2 separate regions of the Homo sapiens genome follow, and region 1 is linked to region 2. The links are contacts of gene promoters, found by promoter capture Hi-C in human tissues and cell types (Jung and others, 2019). All regions are on one chromosome and are shown on one strand. Each heading gives the region's core, a stretch centred on a gene start or on the middle of the fragment in contact. The rest is flanking DNA. Distances are from core to core; before and after follow the strand shown. Region 1 overlaps RAB8A (RAB8A, member RAS oncogene family). Region 2 holds the start of BRD4 (bromodomain containing 4).

What was found. The method cuts DNA at HindIII sites, captures the fragments that hold promoters and counts their contacts. A contact is called where the count stands out against the background at its distance.
Region 1: a contact is called between a fragment that was not itself captured here and the fragment with the promoter of BRD4 in region 2, in 1 of the 25 tissues and cell types used here (dorsolateral prefrontal cortex).

Annotation. Positions count from the first base shown.
Region 1 is chr19:16,124,197-16,126,896 of GRCh38, forward strand. It overlaps RAB8A (RAB8A, member RAS oncogene family), which reads left to right. Exons shown (of 8, transcript NM_005370.5): 4 at 1,274-1,351. It overlaps HSH2D-AS1 (HSH2D and RAB8A antisense RNA 1), which reads right to left. Exons shown (of 2, transcript NR_199156.1): 2 at 1-2,700. Among named protein-coding and RNA genes, the nearest start is that of RAB8A, 14 kb to the left of the region's middle. The HindIII fragment of the contact is 7,709 bases long and covers 1-2,700 here.
Region 2 is chr19:15,331,227-15,333,981 of GRCh38, forward strand. BRD4 (bromodomain containing 4) reads right to left here and starts at 1,313. Exons shown (of 20, transcript NM_001379291.1): 1 at 1,064-1,313. It overlaps LOC124904643 (a long non-coding RNA gene), which reads left to right and starts at 1,387. Exons shown (of 4, transcript XR_007067146.1): 1 at 1,387-1,422. RefSeq lists silencers at 313-362, 373-522, 553-652, 853-1,082, 1,313-1,412 and 1 more and an enhancer at 1,579-2,195. The HindIII fragment of the contact is 25,776 bases long and covers 1-2,755 here.

The sequences.
Region 1 (2,700 bases), core at 194-2,693, 790 kb after region 2:
GCCTTGAGGTTCTTCGCCATGGTTGCGGCTGACTGTGAGGCCATTATTCATGTCCCTGAATTCCCAGGAGGATTTGGGGTTGCAGTGACTTTCTTGCCCCATCTGTGTCGTTTTTGTCCCACACTCTTGCACCCACATCTGTCTCACCATTACCACATGGCCCGTGTCCTTATTCTGCAAACTTGGATGGCCCCAGACAACTTGGCCAGCAGCAGAAGTCATCAGTGCCCTCAGGTGCCACAGATGCAGGGCTGGGCCTGGGGAGCAGGTAGCGAGGAGGAAGGAAGAAATCCAGGCCTGGCCATGAGCAGGCCACGTGCCTTGGAGCCCAGGATGCCCGGCAACAAAGGGGGACTTGTGATGGCACTGCAGGCTGGCCCGCTGTGGGCACTCCACAAGGACATCGAGAACCACACAGACCGTCAGAGGGTGGCCCCCACATGTGGGTTCTGGGGCTGAAAAAGGCCCAGGGATATTGCTGAGAGGATAGGTGTCATCAGTGCTTTTGGAGTTAGCCCCCCCCCGCCCCCCGTGCTTGAATCTTAAAGGTCACGTCTCTGTGCCTCAGTTTCCCCTTGCATCGCATGGGCATGTTTGCGCTTGTCCACAGCAGTAGCGAGGCTGTGGACCCAGGCTGAGGCGGGGCTGCCCCGAAGCTCTTCCAGGACCCACGAGCCGTCTCCCAGTTGCTCACGTCTAGGTTAGGGAACTGGAAGGGCCTTGGCACTCTCGGCTCCATCTTCACACAGCCGGTTCCCTCTGTGGTGGGGTCACTGGAAGTTGTGTGGATGTCGGGTCAGGACTTCCTGGGCTCAGTTGTGCCTGGTAGGTGGCTCAGGCAGAGCGTGGGGTGAGCAAGGGGTGAAGAGGAGGCCGATTGCAGGGGAGGGTCAGCGTGAGGGGAGTGCTGCTGGCAGTGGGCCTGTGGACCGGCTCCCACCGTCAGGCTGCACCACCCCGTGGGCCATGAGGGGAGCCAGCCGGGCTTGTCAGCGAGTGCGTGGCAGGGGCTGGCCTGTGAGGCAGAAGGGTCACCTCAGCGGCCCGGGGGGCAGGACAAGGCTGGTGCCAGAACCCAGCAGAAAGAAGGGCCACAGGGATGGAGAGGAGGGGGCTGGCTTCCGGGGCTCCACAGAGGTGGGGAGGGCGGCAGCTAATGGGCCTGGCTGTGCAGTGGGTGCTGGGCTCCCCACCACTGTTCTCTGGTGCCGCTGAGGCCTCCCTTCCAGAGCCTGCAGCCGATCAGGCACCTGTGTCTTCTCTCCCCGCGCAGGGCATCATGCTGGTCTACGACATCACCAACGAGAAGTCCTTCGACAACATCCGGAACTGGATTCGCAACATTGAGGAGGTGAGGCCCTCCGGCTCCTCCCACTGTCCCTGCTTCAGTCCTTGTCCCAGAGCCCTCTGGTTTACTCATGAGAAGGCCAAGGTGCAGAGACACATACAGGCCACTTGCCCACAGCCTCCTAGTCAGGGACATGGTGGGAGCAGGGACTGAGATGCAAGCAGCCGGCCCCAGGGACCACACACTGGCCTGGCCCCACCCCGGAGCCCCTCGGAGCCCATCCCTCCAGCTAGGCTGTTGGATCTGGCCAGTGTCATGGTTATAAGAGAAAGGATATCCAAGCTTGTGGTCACCATGAGTGTTGGGTGCTTTCTAGAGAAGGAAGGGTCTAGCACAGGTGTGACCCTTGTAGTTGGAGGGTGTGGTGAGCAGGCGTCAGTTGTACTTTGAGCTATATCGGAGCAGGGTGTGACCTGGTACAAACGACCTGTGTTCAGACCTTGAACCATAGAGCAGTGAGAAGTAGGCCAACCCCTCCTCCCCTCCCAAAGCCAGCATCTTCATCTTCTGCTCCCCAAAGAGCTGACCTCACCCCCAAAGCCTTCCTGGCTGCCGGCACCTGCAGCTTTCTATAACTAACCATGTGGGGCTTCAGGTCTGAGGCACAGCCAGAGAACTTTTCCCATCTATAAAACCACAGCAAAAGGGCATATCACTGTCCACCCAGGACTCATGGACCTCCCAGGCCAGGCCGAGAGGCCACCCCATCATTTGTGAGTCATTGCACTGGGCTCACCTCCCCAGTGACCCTGAGAGGGCTGTGCTGCCAAATTTGCCAGTGCAGGGCTGCACCCCAGCTGGGAAAGCTGTCTTCATCCGTGGAGAGGAGGAGAGCCTGGTCTTTGTGAAAGGTCTCTGTTTCTGGCCAGCGGGCAGGAGCCACCTTCTGGTTCATGGGAAGTGAGGCAGGGAGTGGCGCAGTAGGTTCCAGAGACCAAGTCTGAGCTGGTGGAAGAAGACAGCAGTTTCCAGTGTCCCCGTCCTCCAGGAAGCGTGGTCCGCTCCATGGGGACCCAGGGAGACTTGACGAAGGAGCTGCCTTTGGGTATGAGGGCAGAGTTTGGGCAACATCAGACAGGGTGGTGAAGTGCCTGCAGCTGGTGACGGCCTCGAGTTGCGACCACCTCAGGCACGGCCTGTTTCTGGAGCCCAAAAATAGTTGAAATGTCAGGGCCAGGCGAGGTGGCTTATGCCTGTAATCCCAGCAGTTTGGGAGGCTGAGGCGGGCAGATCACCTGAGGTCAGAAGTTTGAGACCAGCCTAGCCAACATGGCGAAACTCTGTCTCTACTAAAAATACAAAAAATTAGCCTGGTATGGTGGCAGATGCCTGTAATCTCAGCTATTCGGGAG
Region 2 (2,755 bases), core at 63-2,562:
GCACCGGCCTGAACTAAAGTATTTACACCGTCCACTACAACAGAGTGGGGTTTCCCATCTTCAAGCAAACCCAAGCCTTGGGGGCATCTCAGCCGAGTGAAGCCATGCTATTTCCGTTTGGGAGGAGGGGGATCATTTTATTTCGCTGAATCACAACTCCCCCACATCCCCACCCCAAATCACCACAATCACCACCACCACACAACACTGCAAATAAAATAGGCCGTTGCAAGGACGCCGGCGAGCACGGACCGAGCAAAACAAAGCGCCCAGCAAGGGGCTGCCAGGCTGAGAGTGGGTGCGTCAAGCGGGCCAAGCTCGCCTCCAGGGCACCGCTCCCGCCCTGAGGCCTGGCCTCAGACCGGCGTGCAGCCGCAGCCACCTCCCTCCGCAGGGGACCTGCCCCTTTCTCCGCAGCACTCCGGGGACCGCCGGGAAGGTGAAGAGATGGGGGTGGGGGCGCGCTGCCCCGGCCCAGGCAAAACGACCTGGGTGCCAGAAGGAGAGCGCGCCGGCCCCGGCCCACGTGAGCGCCGCGGCCGAGCCCGCCTAGAGGACCGCGGACCGGGACAGCTGCGCTCGCGGCCCCCGCGCCAGGCCGGGACTTACCCGGGCCGGGCGCGCCGCGGACCCCGCGGCGGCCGCTTCCTCCTCCTCCTCCTCCTCCTCACTTAACAAAATGGCGGCGGCAGGAAGTGCCGGGCGCCTCGGCCCGCCCCCCGCCCGCCCCCGACCGCCGGCCCCGCCGCGGCGCCCGCGCCCCCCACCCGCGCCCCGCCGGCCAGCCCAAGCCCGGGTCCGACGGCACCAAAGGCAGGACAGCCGCGAGCGACCCCGCCGCCCCGACACCAACGGCGCAGGCCGCCCCGGCCCGGAACGAACGGCGCGGGAGGCCCGCAGGCCCGAGCCCGCGTAGCCCCGGCCTCCCCGCCCCCGCGCCGCGCGGATGGCGTAGGTGGCGGCGCCCCGGCCCCATTACGCAATGCAGGTTACGCGGACCGCGCCGCGAGCCTCCGCCAGCCGCCCAGTGTCGTCCGCCGCCCCAAAGGGCACCAGTCCTCACCTGAGACGCTAGGCCGCACGCCGCCCCCGCCGGCCGTCCGCCCGCTGCCGCCGCCCCCTCCCCGAGCTGCCTGCGCGGCGCCGGGGCCCGCCCGCCGCTCTGCCGAGCTCACAGGCCGCGCTCGCCCGCGGGCACCGCCGGCAGCCGCCGCAGCCGCTGCCGCCGCCACTGCTTCGGCTCCTCGGCTGCGGGAGACCAGAACAAACAGCCCAGCCGCCGCCGCCGCCGCCGCCGCCGCCGCCAGCGCACTGACGTCACCGCGCACGCTGCGCGCGCGGCCCCGCGCCGCCGCCGCCCGGTGTGCGCGCCCCGCCCCCGCGCCCAGCGCGAACGAGCTCTGGAGAGACAGTGGCTGCGAGGTGAGTGGGGGATACCGCGGACTGAGGGAGGAGACCCCGCAGAGCGAAGGAGCGGGCTGGGGGAAACGGGCGGACTGCAGGCTGGGCCTGCGGGAAAAGATCTGAAGGCTGAGAGAGACATCCAAAATACTAAGAAAGGTCTGAAGACAGACCCTCACAGGGAGGGAGGATGGTGAGGAGGGACCCCACAGACTGATGGAGGAGGCGGAGGAGAGAGCCCTAAGGGGGGACCCCAGGTAGGGAGGCTGAGGCGAGAGAGCTGCGATGGGGGCGCCGGGGCTGGGGTGAAGTGGAGGAAAGGAGGTGAGAGGAGGCTGCGAGCAAGGCCGAGGCGGATCCTCCTTGGCTGCCCCTGGGCAGGGAGGTAGCACCTTTCTCCTCTTATGCCCCCCTGTTGATCTTCTTCCAACCCACCTTTTTAAAAAAAGGGACATGGTCTTGCTCTGTCCCCCAGGCTGGAGTGCAGTAGTGCAGTCATAGCTCACTGCAGCCTCAACCTGCTGGCCTCAAGCGATCCTCCTGCTTCAGCCTCCCAAGTAGCTGGGACTACAGGTGTGCACCACCACACCCAGCTAACTATTTTTTGTAGAGATGGGATCTCACGATGTTGGCCAGGCTGGTCTCTGTCTCCTGGACTCAAGCGATCCTCCTGCCTCGACCTCCCAAAGTGCTAGTATTACAGGCGTGAGCCACCGCGCCCAGCTCCTTCCCATCCTTAAGACTCAACCCCAAGTCAGACCAGGCTCGGTGGCTCACACCTGTAATCTCAGCACTTTGGGAGGCAGAGGCAGGAGGTTGGCTTGAGGCCAGGGGTTGGAGACCATCCTAGCCAACAGAGTGAAACCTCGCCTCTACTAAAAATACAAAAATTAGCCCCGTGTGGGCCGGGCGCAGTGGCTCACGCCTGTAATCCCAGCACTTTGGGAGGCGGGCAGATCACGAGGTAAGGAGATCGAGACCATCCTGGCTAAGACGGTGAAACCCCGTCTCTACTAAAAATACAAAAAATTAGCCGGGTGTGGTGGTGGGCGCCTGTAGTCCCAGCTACTCGAGAGACTGAGGCAGGAGAATGGCGTGAACCCGGGAGGCGGAGCTTGCTGTGAGCGGAGATCGCGCCCCTGCACTCCAGCCTGTGCGACAGAGCGAGACTCCGTCTCAAAAAAAAAAAAAAAAAATTAGCCGGGTGTGGTGGCGCATGCCTGTAATCCCATGCCTGTAATGCCAGCTACTCAGGAGGCTAAGGCAGAAGAATCACTTGAACCCGGGAGGCGTAGGTTGCAGTGAGCCGAGATTGTGCCACTGCACTCTAGCCTGGGCGACAGAGCAAGGCTCT